Regions from separate parts of the Homo sapiens genome. Here all the other regions are linked to region 2. Evidence: promoter capture Hi-C in human tissues and cell types (Jung and others, 2019). All regions are on one chromosome and are shown on one strand. Each heading gives the region's core, a stretch centred on a gene start or on the middle of the fragment in contact. The rest is flanking DNA. Distances are from core to core; before and after follow the strand shown. Region 1 holds the start of SLC5A5 (solute carrier family 5 member 5). Region 2 holds the start of COLGALT1 (collagen beta(1-O)galactosyltransferase 1). Region 3 holds the start of USE1 (unconventional SNARE in the ER 1). Region 4 has its middle 22 kb from the start of CCDC124. Region 5 holds the start of ARRDC2 (arrestin domain containing 2).

Region 1 (2,700 bases), core at 45-2,544, 320 kb before region 2:
TCTGCATGCTTTGGCCTCCCAAAGTGCTGGGATTACAGGCGTGAGCCACCGCACCGGGCCCCGGTCACGATTTTAATCGCTTTACCCTCTCCCCTGGAGGGAGGTCCTGTAATTCGCCCATTGGACAGCTGGGAAACCCAAACAGAGAGGCACGCCCCTTGCCCAAGATACAAGAAAGCAGTGAAGCCAGGTTTCGAACCCCGGAGCCGTCAGCAGTCCCCTCTAGCGCGCACACGTGGGTCTGCACGCCCGGGCAGGTGGGGGGCAGGTGTGTGTCCACCCGTGAGGACACACCTGGTCGAGCCGGGCCCCGCCCCGCGCGCGCTTCCACCGAAGGAGCAGGACGCCAGGCTCTCTCTTCCTCCTTCCTGCCCCTCGCCGGGCGCCTGGGGCCTCTTCCTAGAACCCTCCCCACGTGTCTGCCTAGGGGCCCCTTCCGTTAAAGCACCGAGGTGCCATCCGCGTCCTCCTGTACAGCGGCCCAAAGCCCCAGCGCCTCCCCCACACGGGGTCCCAGCACTGCCAGTGGGGCAGGTCCTACCCCCGGGCCTCTGTCCGGTACCTCGTAGGTGCTGGTGAGGCCCAGGCGGTAGAAGACGGGCATGAAGAGCAGGGCGGTGAGGACCGAGTTCAGAAGCTGGCCCAGGCACATCCAGAGGAACTTGAGGCCATAGCGATAGGCCTCCGACGGCACGCCCAGCACCTGCACGGCCGACATGAAGCTGGCAGACAGCGACAGGCCCACGGGCAGGGCCGCCAGGCGCCGGCCCCCGGTGAAGAAGTCCTCAGCGCTGCGCTGCCCGCCCCGAGCCAGCCCGACCCACAGCCCGATGCCAGTGGACACCAGGAGCATGAGGGCAAAGACCCCGTAGTCCCAGGCTCCGAAGGTGGGCCGTTCCCCGGTCTCCACGGCCTCCATGAGGGCGGGTGCGGAGGCCCAGCGCGTCCTCGGACGCCCTGCGTGCTCAAGCGGGGGAAGCTGGCAGGGGCCGAGGAGGCAGGACGGGGAGGGCGGGTGGGAGGATGCTCGGCAGCCTGTCCCCGCTCCGTCTGGGGTGGGAAGCGGCGAGAGGGGCCGGGGCTCCCTGGGTTAGGAATCTATGGGCTGTCGATGTCCGTGTCGGCCTCCCTGTCCCCGCTGTCTGTCTCTGCGTCCGCCCCTGCTGTCTGTCTGTCCTGCCACCTCCCCTCTCACTCTGGGTTCCGCTGTCCCATGCAGCCGGCTGTCTGTCCCTCTCCCTGGGCGCTGTGCTCAGCGCTGACAGCTGGAGGTCGCCTTGGGGCTTACGGGAGCAGCTCGTGATTGTGGGTTGCAGATTTATTGGGCTCCCGGGTCACCGCGACTCCGCCTCCAGACCTAGGGGCGGGCAGGACCCGCACCCTTTCAGCCCTGGACTGGGACAGACAGGCCAGGACAGGCTATCTGGGTGGCTGCAGGGGGTGGTATCGGGGAGGGCTCCCAAATGCCCCTCCATCCCCATGCACCCACCCATCCCCATGCACTGTGATCCCCTGATCACAGCTGTCACTGTCTGCTGTTGACAGGTGGGGAAATTGAGGCTCAGAGAGGGCATGTCACTATCCAAGCCTGCACAGCCTGCTTCAGCACTCAAAGCCGTATTGTGCTTGAATACCTTGAGCTATGGGGAGCTCACTTTCATGCAGGACTGGGGTTCACTTTCAGGGTTTCAGGGGACCCATAAAGAAAACTTACCTGGCTTTACCACCCCCAAACTGGCATGTGGGCCTACCCCCTTTCTCTAGAGCCTTAGGGGGTGGGCATCACTGAACCCCGCTCTTGGGCTAAGCTGGGTGGGAGACATTCAGAGCTCAAGTTCTGAGTGGGTACATACTTGGGGAAGACTTTGCTCCTCCCTGGGCCTTAGTTTCCCCATCTGTAACAAGGATAAAATAGACCCTGCCTCAGAGGAATAAATGGGACGTGGTAACGAAAGCCTGGTACATGATAAGTGCCTCATTCATTTATTCCTTTATTCATTTGTCACTTCATTCATTCATTCATTGGTTCCTTTGCAGATATGCACTGAGAGTTGGCCCTGTGCCAGGCATAAATGGCTCACTGAGGTGGTGCGAGGGGCCTTTAAGGTTATGAACCCGAATAAGCGGAGACCATGACCACCAGGGAGGTAGAGTCTGGCTTGTCCCTATCATATAGATGAGGAAACCAAGGTTGGGTGTGGGAGAAAGTCTACTGGGGGGGTCACGCTTCCATGAGGACCAACGAGCTGTCATCTCAGGGCCCTTCTCTGGGGGACCCAGGAGGACTTTGACCTCTGGAGGTTCTGGTCTCTGGGTTCAAGTCTCAGCTCAGCCTCCAACTTTCTGGGCAATCACGCATCTCAAACTTGGTTCCCTTCTCCATAAGCTGGTGGAATCTGAAATCCTGGGGGTTGAAAGAAACAGCGTCAGAGGCCGGGCATGATGGCTTATGCCTGTAATCCCAGCACTTTGGGAGGCTGAAGTGGGAGGATCATTTGAGTCCCAGAATTCGAGACTACCCTGAGCAACATAGTGAGATCTTGTCTGTATGAAAAATACAAATATTAGCGAGGCGTGGTGGCACATGCCTGTAATCCCAGCTACTCAGGAGGCTGAAGTGGGAGGATCGCTTGAGCGTGGAAGTTCGAGGCTGCAATGAGCTGTGGTCGAGAACTGCACAGCACTCCAGCCTGGGCAGCA
Region 2 (2,700 bases), core at 81-2,580:
CTTCAGAGACAAACCCAAAAAGAGAATTATATTAATACGCTCATTTTCTTTTCTTTTTCTTTTTTTAGAGGCAGGTCTTACTCTGTAGCCCAGGCTGGAGTGCAGTGGTGCAATCATAGGTCACTGCAGCCTCGAACTCCTGGGCTCAAGCGATTCTCCTGCGTCAGCCTCCTGAATAGCTGGGACTACAGGCACACACCACCGCACCTGGCTAATTTTTGTATTTTTTTTCTAGAGACGGGGTTTTGCCATGTTGGCAAGGCTGGTGTCGAACTCCTGAGCTCAAGTGACCCGCTTACCTTGGCCTCCCAAATTGCTAGGATTACTGCGTGAGCCACTGCACCCGGACCCATTTTCCATTTGAGAAAACTGAGGCAGGGAGTGAGAAGTCACCAGTCAAAGGTTTCTTCAGAGCTCTGCCCCATTCCCTACCAAGAAAGCATCCACTTCCTCCTGGGCCATCTGGTCCTGGACTCCACCCACGCCGGTCTGAGGGCAGGGGTTTGACTGGGGCCTGGAGCCAGGCTGAGTTCAAGCTTAAGGGCAGCAGCCGGCACAGAAAGGCTTGCTGTTAGATGTGGCCTCTGGCAACGCCCCAGTGGGGGCTCTGGGCTCCGTCCTTTGGAGGTGTACGTGCCCCAGAGGGAGTTAGAGCCCCAGTTAGTGAGGCCGGAGCTGCCCTAGTAGGGTCCAGCAGGCAGAAGCGGTGCCCAGCCCACCCCAAAGGAGCCAGCAGGAGGAACTCGGTCCCGCTTGTGTTGTGGGGAGGGCTGTGTCTGGCCCCATGGGAGGACAGCAGGCAGGGGGCACGCGTGGACCCGTCCCGATGGGGGCAGCGGGCAGGGGCATGCGTAGAACCGTCCCGATGGGGGTAGCGAGCAGGAAGCACGCGCGGACCCGCCCAGAAGAGGACAGCGGGCAGGGGCTCGCGTGGACCCACCCCTATGGGGACAGCAAGCAGGGGCTCGCGTGACCCGCCTGATGGGGACAGCGGGCTCGACTCACCATAGCGCCGTGCGCTCCCGCGGGTGCCGCAGCCGCTCGAGTGCGCCCAGCGTGGTGGGCAACGCGTGGGCCGCGTTTCGCGCCAACAGCGCGATGAGCACGCGCGGCGCCTGCAGGGGCGACTCCGGGCTCCAGCGCTCCTCGGGGAAGTAGGCGTCGGCGCCCGGCGGGGCCCCCGGCGGCAGTGGCGCCAGCAGCAGAAGCAGCAGCGCCAGGAGCGGCTGCCCGCGCCGCCGGCCCGCGCGTGGGGCCGCCGCCATCGCGCCACGCGTCTCCTTTAAGTCGTTTTTCTGCGGGAGGACTCTGGCCGCGCCTTAAAGGGGTCATAGGGGCCCCGCCCGGCCGCGCGCCTTAAAGGGGAGGAGCGCGCCGGGCGTGAAGTCCAGGCCCCGCCTCCAGACGCTCTCCGAGTCCCAAGGCCCGGAGTGACGTCACCTGCAGCCCTACCCAGGACGCCCCGCCCCCGCACCGATCTTAAAGGCACATAGCGCTCGGAGCGCGTGGAAGGGATGTTAGGGGTAGCGTTAGGGTTAGGAACCCGCGCTTCCTCCAGGCGCCTCCTACCACTGAGACCTCCGCCAGATGCGCCGCCCAATTTCCCCATGTATAAAACCCGGGCTGTGCCACCAGGCGGACTTGGCTACTTAGGACCTGGTTTGGGACCCAAGAGACCTTAGCCTCAGTTTCCTCTGCTGCAACGTGGGTTTTGCCATCCTGGTTTTGGATCTCACAGGGATGTCATTGAGGGTTGTGGAGAATAAAGGTCATGACGTCCACAGACCTGGCGTCACATTCAGTCCCCGCCTTGGGCTTGCTATATGTGAGCCTCAGTCTGTCCATCTATAAAATGAGATCATAGAGACCCTATAGGGTTGGCGTGAAAATAGAGCCAGGGCATGATAATGGACCGTTCTGGGCACAAGCTCTTCCAGAGACAAGGGCCATGTTTTCATGGAAACGCTGTCAAGGGATTGTTTTCCAATACTCTAGAGCCGCATTTTCAAATTGATTGACTTAGTATCACACTTTTTTTTTTTTTTTTTTGAGACGGAGTCTGGCTTTGTTGCCCGGGCTGGAGTGCAGTGGTGCAACATAGCAAGACCGTGCCTCTATTTTTAAAAACAATAAAAACTTTAAAAAATACATCTGAACATTATTATTATTATTATTATTATTTTCTTTTTTTTTTTTTTTGAGACAGCGTCTCACTCCATTGCCCCGGCTAGAGTACAGTGGCGCGATCTCGGCTCACTGCAACCTCCGCCTCCCGGGTTCAAGCGATTCTCCTGCTTCAGCCTCCTGAGTAGCTGGGACTACAGGCACGCGCCACCACGCCCGGCTAATTTTTGTTTATAGTAGAGATGGGGTTTCACCATATTGGCCAGGCTGGTCTCGAACTCCTGACCTCCTGATCCGCCCACCTCAGCCTCCCAAAGTGCTGGGATTACAGGCGTGAGCCACCGCGCCCAGCTTATTATTATTTTCACAGAGAGGGTCTTACTCTGTGGCTCAGGCTAGAGTGCAGTGGCATGATCACATGATCATGGCTCACTGCAGCCTCAACCTCCTGGGCTCAACTGATCCTCCTGCCTCAGCCTCCCAAGTAGCTGGGACTACAAGTGCACTCAACCACGCCCAGCTAATTTTTAAATTTTTTGTAGAGATGGAGTCTCGCTATGTTGCCCCGGCTGTTCT
Region 3 (2,807 bases), core at 204-2,703, 340 kb after region 2:
ACGGGGTTTCTCCATGTTGGTCAGGCTGGTCTTAACTCCTGACCTCAAATGATCCGCCCGCCTCGGCCTCCCAAAGTGCTGGGATTACAGGCGTGAGCTGCCGCACCTGGCCACAACAACTCATATTTTAAAAGATTGAGCTGATCCACATAAAGTGCTCAGAAAGGAACTTGTCATCCTCTTTTACGGCTGAAGAAACTTATGTGTCTTGTAAGTTGCAAGCCAGGACTCAAACCCTGCTCTTGGGCCAACTCTGGGGCTTAACCAGACACATTCCATTTTTGCCTTGTACCAAATTCCTATTCATCTAGCAAAGCCTTAGCCACAATGCCCCTCTGTTGGGCAGCCTTGTGTGATGACCCAGGGAAGAGATTGCTGGACCCCCTTAGGGTTCCTGTATCTGACAGTATTGTGGTTCTGGCTGCCTACAAGCATAGAACCCCTATTCCTGTCCAAGGGATTCCCAGGGACCAGGGAAGGAGCCCTACCGTGCCTAGTAGCTCACTCCGCATCTCGCTGGTGTACCGCGCCCGTGACTGCAGATGCACCGTCTTTGTGGCGGGCACTCGCTCTCTGGCTGTGGTTGGCACACGGCCAGGGGCCAGGAACTGGTTGGCCAGTGCTTTCTCTGAGGAGGAGGTCTGCAGAAATGTGGGAAGATAAGTCACTGGAGGGGCAGGTCCTGGGGACCAAAGTGAGCGGTGATGGGGGCTGAGGGGGCAGGGGCACCCCTTCTCACCAGCTTCTCGGCTTGCAGCATCCCCTTCAGAAAATCCACCTTCCAGGAATATTCATTGATCACCTCAGAGGCCGGTTTGCTGGAAGGCAGGAAGAAGAAAAACAAAACCTGTCCATGGTCCCCAGCTCAGGGAAGGGTCCCAGCTGGGATAGCGGTACTGGGATGTCCAGTAGCACAGCCACGTGCTGATGTGAAAGCCCTGAGGCTGCCTGCACTCACCTCGCGTGGACCTTCAGGGCCTGCAACATGTCCTCTAGGGCTCCCACGTACTGGGGAGGAAAAGTGGATTGTCACCCGGGGGTCTTTCCCATGTCCTGATCATGGGAGTCGGGGGGGCGGGGCCGACAAATGGGAGGGGTCAAGCGTAAAGGAGGCGGGGCCAGTGGGGGAGGGGCGGAGTCCCAGGGACGGGGGCGGAAGCTACAGGTGGACGTGGCGGGACTGACCGGAAAGGGCGCTGCCCGAGAGGCTACTGGGGCCGGGGAGTCGGGCCAGGTGGCTTCCAACCCTAGGAATCACCCCCCGGGAGTCGGGCTCTACGCGGCAGTGCGAGATCCCCTCACCTTCTCCAGGCGCCACTCGTCCGGGTCCCGTTTCTCCGCTGCCATCGCCTCGCAGCGGGATAGCAGCCGCACCAGGTTTAGCTCCAGCCTCGACGCCGCCATTATCGCCCGGCCCTACACCACCCCTTCCGCCGGCTCCATGTTAAGAGAGGGCGGAAGTGCCTTCAAGTGGCCTTCCGGGCGGATGTTTCCCCCGCGCTCGTTAGCTGGCCCATCTTTGTTTGGAGCGGAAGTAATATCTTGTTTTGAGACGGGGCGCTGGGCCGGGCGCGGTGGCTCAGGGCTGTAATGCCAGCATTTTAGGAGGCAGAGGTGGGAAAGGATTGCTTGAGGCCAGCCCGGGCAAGATAGCGCTACTCTATCTCTATTTTAAAAAAATAGGAGAGGCGCCACCCCATTCTTACTTAGGCGAATCACTTGCTTTTCCTCGAGAGCATGTTAACCCTTCGGGAATGATAGGACGACCGGGGTCTTCTGGTGTCAGACCCGCGTGCAGTGTGCCCTTTTGTTCTGTTTTGCCTGCTCAAAGTACCTCCCCGCACCCCACTCCTACCTGGATTCTTCCCAGTCGGAGCTATTTCACGTCCACACACCCTTCCCGATTTCTGTAGCCTGGGATTCAGGAATCCAAGGCTTCCCCCACCTCAGCAGGGCTCATCTGTATTGTGGTTATGGGTTTCCAGGTCACAGCTCCAGCTCTGATTCCATCCTCGGCCCTGGGAGAGTTTAACTTTTCTGGATCCGCTTCTTCCCCCGGGAAATGGACAGTGTGACAGTACCTGCCTCAAGGGGCACATGAGACAGCTCTGCCTGAGAGTGAGCAAGGTGGGGCTGGGTCCCCCCTAACGCCCAGACCCCCATGGAGAACCCCTTCCCAGCCCACCTCAGTACCTGGAAGCTGAGTACCCCTATGCCTTGCAGTGCCTCTCTTCTGGAGTGACAGGATGAGGGTGGGGGCTTCACAGGAACCAGGGCCTGGCATGCAGCCTTCATGTTTTCCCACACCTTAGGTCATCTGCACCTTGGTTACACCAGTGGGCCTGATGTCCTTGAAAAATATCATAGACGGGTAGGTGCGGTGGCTCACACCTGTAATCCCAGCACTTAGGGAGGCTGAGGCAGATGGATCACCTGAGGTCAGGAGTTTGAGACCAGCCTGGCCAACATGGTGAAACCCCGTCTCTACTAAAAATACAAAAATTAGCCGGGCGTGATGGTGGGTGCCTGTAATCCCAGCTACTTGGGAGACTGAGGCAGGAGAATCGCTTGAACCCAGGAGGTGGATGTTGCAGTGAGCCGAGATTGTGCCACTGCACTCCAGCTTGGGCAACAAAGCAAGACTCCGTCTCAAAAAAAAAAAAAAAAAAAGAAAATACCATGGAGGGCCAGGTGCGGTGGCTCACGCCTGTAATCCCAGCACTTTGGGAGGGTGAGGTGGATGGATCACTGGAGGTCAGGAGTTTGGAGAGCAGCCTGGCCAACATGGTGAAACCCTGTCTCTATCA
Region 4 (2,700 bases), core at 34-2,533, 360 kb before region 2:
GATTGAGCCTGAGAGTTTGAGGCTGCAGTGAATCAACATCTCCCCACTGCACTCCACCCTGGGCAACACAGCAAGATTCTTTTTCTAAAGAAAAGTTTAAAAATAAAAATAAATAGTCTGGGCAGGGTGGCTCATGCCTGTAATCCCAGCACTTTGGGAGGTGGAAGTGGGCAGATCACTTGAGGCCAGGAGTTTGAGACCAGGGTGGCCAACATAACAAAACCTCATCTCTACTAAAAATACAAACATTAGCCAGGCCTGTGGCGCACACCTGTAGTCCCAGCTACTCGGTAGGCTGAGGCAGGAGAATCGCTTGAACCCAGGAGGCGGAGGCTGCAGTGAGCTGAGATCGCACCACTGCGCTCCAGCCTGACAACAGAACGAGACTCCGTCTCAAAATAATAATAAATAAATAAATAAATAAATATTTGGTCTTTTGACCCCAGTTCCTGACAGAGTGATGGGAGTGTCTGACATAGAGCTCCTAAATCCCCTAGAGTTTCCTGGGTGATAGGAGCGTCTTTGGTTCTAAAAAGATGACTCTTGGTGGGTTCCTGGGTGGGGACCAACAAGACCAAGCCATCATTAGAAGCTTGGAGCTTTCAGCCCCACCCTCTTTCTCTGGAGACCGGAGAGGGGCTAGGGACTGAGTTAATAATCAATCATGCCTTCATAATGAAGCCCCCATAAAAATCCCCAAAAGATGGGGTTTGAAGAGCTTCCGAGTTGATGAACACATCTGCAGGTTGCAAGGGTGGGGTATCCCACTCTATAGAGACCATTGTGTCTCAAGGCGGGCTGTTTTGTGGGATTGAGCCCTTAACCTGCGGGATCTGATGCTGTGTCCGAGTAGATAGCATCGGAACCAAATTGCATCAGAGGAATCCCAGCTGGTGTCCACTGGAGAATTGCTTACTATGTGGAAAAAATAAAGACAACCCACACATCTGGTGTCAGAAGTGTGGTGTTGAGTGGGATGTGTGTTTTGTTTGTTCCTCTTACATTGTGTTTTGAAATAAAACCAATACTCAGCCGCAAAGCAACCGCATTGGTCACCCTTCTGCAACGATTGTGTTAATGTTTTTCTTGATTTCGTCAAACATGAGAGCCGCAGGGGTCTGCAGATTTTCATAACAAGGCCTCCAGGACAAATTGGCTCTTGAAATTATTTTGTGATTAAAAAGAAAAAAGAAAAGCCAAATTTAAAAAAATAAATTAAAAGAAGATTTAATAAGATTTATATGTATTCAAAAGAAGATTTAGTAAGATTTGTATGTATTCACCAGGAAACATGTTTTATGATTTGTTTTGGAAGGGCAAAAGCAATTTCCACAGTAATGTGAATTTTGTAATCTAATATTCTTTTTTTTTCTTTTTTTAGATTTTTGAGGCAGGGTCTCACTCCCATCACCCAGGCTGAAGTGCAGTAGCATGATCACAACTCACTGCAGCCTCAACTTCCCAGGCTCGGGCGATCCTCCCACCTCAGCCTCCTGTGTAGCTGGGACCACAGGCATGCATCACCATACCAGGCTAATATTTGTATTTTTTGTAGAGATGCAGTTTCACCATGTTGCCCAGGCTGGTCTCAAACTCCTGGGCTCAGATGATCGCCCCACCTCCCAAAGTGGTGGGATTACAGGCGTGAGGCACTGCACCTGGCTCATTTTTCTAAGAAAAAAAAAAATCTTTCTGTCTAGATTTTTTTTTTTCATGTTTGAGGGCTCTGCATTGCTGGGGCAACTGTGGATTTGACCAGCTCCTTGAACAATCCATTGCCAGGTCAGGACTTGGAGAAAGCAACGTGGATGACCCAGAGAGGGGCAGCGACTGGCTGCAGGCCACACAGCAATTTCATCAAGATTCCATCCTTAGGCCAGGAGTGGTGGCTCACGCCTATAATCCCAGCATTTTGGAAGGCCTAGGTGGGCAGATCACTTGAGGTCAGGAGTTCAAGACCAGACTGGCCAACATGGCGAAACCTTGTCTCTACTAAAAATATGAAAATTAGCTGGGTGTGGTGGCGGGTGCCTGTAATCCCAGCTACTCGGGAGGCTGAGGCAGGAGAATCGCTTGAACCCGGGAGACGGAGGTTGCAGTGAGCCAAGAATATGCTACTGCACTCCAGCCTGGGTGACAGAGCAAGAGTCTGTCTCAAAAAAAAAAAAAAAAAAAGATTCCATCTTGGTGGGGTAGGTGGCATGAGGTGAGCTACCTCCTGAGAGCCACCAGTTTTGGGATGATCCTCAATCCCAGCCCGTCTCAGACCTGGCTCTGGGGAGAATAGGATGTAGGGGAGACCTTCCATCCTTGCCGTGCTGTGCCCCAGGTGGGCCTGGAGCCAGCTGCACCTGAAGCTGACACAGCCCTGGGCCTCGGTAGGAGGCAAGTGGAGTCATTCCAGTGGAAACTTACCTGCTTCCTGCCTGGTCTTGTCTTCTGCTCCACCTGGCTTCTTGACAACTCTCCCGCTGTACCAGAAAGAATAGGAATTCAGGGCCTCAGTATTGGCTTAAGCTACAGATACCAAGATCAGCAGGGGAGACAGAGACAAGCCTGTGGACCTGAAGGGGAGGGGCCCCACCTCCCAGCCATTTAGGAGAACATTCAACAGGGCTGCAAGACAGGGCTCAGAGGACGAGGAGGAACAGGAGGCAAGGGCACTGCCTGGGGTGCTGGGGTAGGCAGCAGGGTTGCCCA
Region 5 (2,845 bases), core at 94-2,593, 450 kb before region 2:
AGCTGAGGGAGGACTTTGGGCAGGGCTTGGTTTCTTTTTAACAATCCAGGAACTATCCGTTAAATAGAGCCAGGAACACAACCCATCTTATAAAGCCAGAAATGAAATGTATAAGCCAAGTGTTTGGTGTGTAATTCACACTTGGTAAGCCCTAGCTCTGGTCTATTTCACAGAAGAGGCATCTGAGGCTCAGAGAGGGCTTCAAGACACTTGCCCAGAGTCACACGGCAAATGGGTGCAGATCCCAGTGGATTCCACACGCATTCCCACACCTGCCTCCCTCCCTGCCAGGGCCCACCTATGACCTCCATCTTATTGGTTGGTGTCGCCCAGCAGCCAGGCAGGCCCCTTCCTACAATACTCCCAACCTACCTCCCCAAGGGTGGCCACTCACCAGCAGGGCTGGCGTGTTGATGTCCACAGGCTCGATGACAGTGAACACCTTCCTTGCCCGGCGTGCTGGGACCCAGGGCCGGTGCAGGGTGGCCTTGATACAGTAGCGGACACTACCGTGTTTGCCCTCGAAGGATGTCACCAGGGTCCTAGGGTGGAGGGACGGGACTTCAGGGGACAAGATACAGAGACAAGCAGGCAGGGAGAAGGAGACACAGACACTCCGGGGGCCTCCCAGGGGGAGAGTCTTGGGGCTCAGAGGTGCCCAGATATCCAGTATTGGAGGTACCAATCTGGAAGGGGCTGCAGGCTTAGGGCAACCCTGCACCCCAGAGGACTTACGGGGGCAGCTGGAAGCTGAACAGGAACTCATGGCGCCCAGGAGGCAGCGTCGTGGTCTCCCCGGTATCTGCAGGTAGGAGAAAAAGGAGGCGACTGAGCGGTTGCGCTGGGGTCCCAGGGCTGACGGAGGTACCGCCGTCCAGGTGGTGGGAGGCACACAACTGGTGTTGGAGCAGGGGTCCTCCATCCGTACCTGGCGCCAGGAGCGTGGCGCGGTGGCTCACGACCTCCACGCGTTCACTGTAGCTCTGCGTGTAAGCCGTGCTCGAGCCCGCGCTGCGCGACTCGGTCCAGTGCACGTGGGCGCGGCCCCGCGCGCGCAGCCTCAGGGCACCCACACGCGCGGCGCTTGACAGCTCCAGCAGCACCCGGCCCGCCACGGCCTGGCCGCCGCTAAACACGGGCTCGACGCCCGCGGTCGCGCCGTCCAACTGCACCGAGAACGCTTTCACCTTGTCGAATAGCATCGCGTCCGGGGTGCGAACCCACGACAGGCGGAACCTGGCCTCGAACTCGCGAACCGGCAGCTCAAGATGCCGACGCTGCAGCCTCAGAACGCAAAATCGCCGTCAACGCGCAGGCGCGCTCACCAACCGGAGCAGAAAATCCCCGCGCCGTGCGTCGGCGCCGCTTTTATACGGCAGGGCGGGGGGGGGTGGGGTCACCGTCTCTTCCCCGCCCCGGGAAGGGACTCCACCAATAGCGCGACAAGGGGCGTGGCTCTGCCCAGGCGTGGAGCAAAATAACAAACGCCCCTGCTCACCGCCGGCTGCCCCCTTCCCTCGCGGACCCCGGGGAGAAACTGAAGCCCTTAGGCTGCCAGAGCTGGTCTCTCGCGGACCCCGGGGGTAAAGAGGAAAAAAAGAGGTGCAGAGGCAGGGCCCAGGCCTGAGGTCACCTAGCAGAGCCTTCAGCCTCTCGGCTTAATCACTCACCAGCCGCCCCTCGTTGACGTGACTCGAGGCATGTCCAGCCCGATTTGGGGCGGGGGACTCTCGCCCCAGTTGAGGGCCAGAGAGCCTATGACTGTTCCAGGCCTGTTTCCCCCGCTATGCAAAGGGAGAAGTGGAGGAGGTGGGTGGGACCGCCCTCCACACTGGTGCCTGCTGCACCCCTTTCCTGATTCAAGTCCCGCTTAGCTGGTGGCTCTGGGCAAATGACAACCTCTTGGAGCCTCAGTTTCCACCTCTGTAGAGCCGGGAGAAAGTAAAAATCAGTCCTGACCTCAGAAGGTTGTGCATGGATCATCGTGCAGCCCCAGCTGGACTCCTCCAAGAGCCTCGCTCCCGGGTCATCAACCTGCTCTTGACATACCGTCACTCGGTCGCGCCTCGGCGCATTCGCCCAGGAGCGGTACCTACGAAATGATGTTCCCTTCCCAATTTTCAGCCTCTGGCAAACCCTACCTTCCCCGCAGCCCTTGTGCCTGCTCCAGTCATCCTCAGCCCCCGTCCCGCCACAGAGCTGAATGCAGGGGACGCTCGGGCACCCCCAGGTCCACAGCTGCGGTGTGGCCACGGGACGGCGTGACCTCTCTCTGGGCTTCAGTTTCCCCAAAGAAAAGTCGCATGGAGTTTCTCCAGCGGGAGTTGCCTCTGCGTCGTCTGCGGGACGCTGGCGCCCTCTCGTGGCAGCGTAATGCGCTGCCGCTGAACCCATCCCCTGCCGTGACTGTCCGCCTCTGAGCCTGGCTCAGGAGACTTCCACCACCTCAGTGAGGTGTGTGGGTGGAGGGGGCGGTCATAAACAAACACGGTCACCCTCAGCCCGTGATGGGGATCGGAACAGGAACGACGGAGTTGGAGGCACAGTGATCAGCCTGGAAGGCTGCCTGGGAGGATGGGTCTTTGGAGTTGAAAGGAAGGTCTGGGACCTTAGGCCAGGTTTCAATGGATACTAGAGGGGAGACAGTAGGCCGTTAAGTCCGGGAGGAGAAGCGGGATTAGGTAACCCTGAAGGGACTACTGAGCCAGCGCCTCCCTCAATTCATTTCGCAGACGGACCCCAAAGGCCCAGAGATGGGTGGGGCTCTGCCCGAGGTCACACAGCACCTCCACTGGCCTCGCCCCTCCAGTGTCACTGTTTTTTCCTTAAATGTATAACAATTTAA

The links. The method cuts DNA at HindIII sites, captures the fragments that hold promoters and counts their contacts. A contact is called where the count stands out against the background at its distance.
Region 1: the fragment with the promoter of SLC5A5 here is called in contact with the fragment with the promoter of COLGALT1 in region 2 in 3 of the 25 tissues and cell types used here (IMR-90 fibroblasts, adrenal gland and lymphoblastoid cells).
Region 3: the fragment with the promoter of USE1 here is called in contact with the fragment with the promoter of COLGALT1 in region 2 in 1 of the 25 tissues and cell types used here (spleen).
Region 4: a contact is called between a fragment that was not itself captured here and the fragment with the promoter of COLGALT1 in region 2, in 4 of the 25 tissues and cell types used here (IMR-90 fibroblasts, liver, lymphoblastoid cells and 1 more).
Region 5: a contact is called between the fragment with the promoter of ARRDC2 here and the fragment with the promoter of COLGALT1 in region 2, in 2 of the 25 tissues and cell types used here (lymphoblastoid cells and mesendoderm cells).

The regions. Positions count from the first base shown.
Region 1 is chr19:17,870,539-17,873,238 of GRCh38, reverse strand. SLC5A5 (solute carrier family 5 member 5) reads right to left here and starts at 1,294. Exons shown (of 15, transcript NM_000453.3): 1 at 563-1,294. The coding sequence starts at 919. The HindIII fragment of the contact is 15,663 bases long and covers 1-2,700 here.
Region 2 is chr19:17,554,279-17,556,978 of GRCh38, reverse strand. It overlaps COLGALT1 (collagen beta(1-O)galactosyltransferase 1), which reads right to left and starts at 1,330. Exons shown (of 12, transcript NM_024656.4): 1 at 1,006-1,330. The coding sequence starts at 1,265. It also overlaps a transcript of NIBAN3 not described here. RefSeq lists a silencer at 1,163-1,252. The HindIII fragment of the contact is 12,267 bases long and covers 1-2,700 here.
Region 3 is chr19:17,214,003-17,216,809 of GRCh38, reverse strand. It overlaps USE1 (unconventional SNARE in the ER 1), which reads right to left and starts at 1,453. Exons shown (of 8, transcript NM_018467.4): 1 at 1,303-1,453; 2 at 959-1,008; 3 at 740-818; 4 at 489-641. The coding sequence starts at 1,404. RefSeq lists a silencer at 1,060-1,129 and enhancers at 1,150-1,469, 1,233-1,813. The HindIII fragment of the contact is 58,541 bases long and covers 1-2,807 here.
Region 4 is chr19:17,909,289-17,911,988 of GRCh38, reverse strand. No RefSeq gene overlaps it. Among named protein-coding and RNA genes, the nearest start is that of CCDC124, 22 kb to the left of the region's middle. The HindIII fragment of the contact is 5,842 bases long and covers 1-2,700 here.
Region 5 is chr19:18,006,668-18,009,512 of GRCh38, reverse strand. It overlaps ARRDC2 (arrestin domain containing 2), which reads right to left and starts at 1,343. Exons shown (of 8, transcript NM_015683.2): 1 at 929-1,343; 2 at 736-802; 3 at 395-542. The coding sequence starts at 1,202. RefSeq lists an enhancer at 1,070-1,289. The HindIII fragment of the contact is 21,109 bases long and covers 158-2,845 here.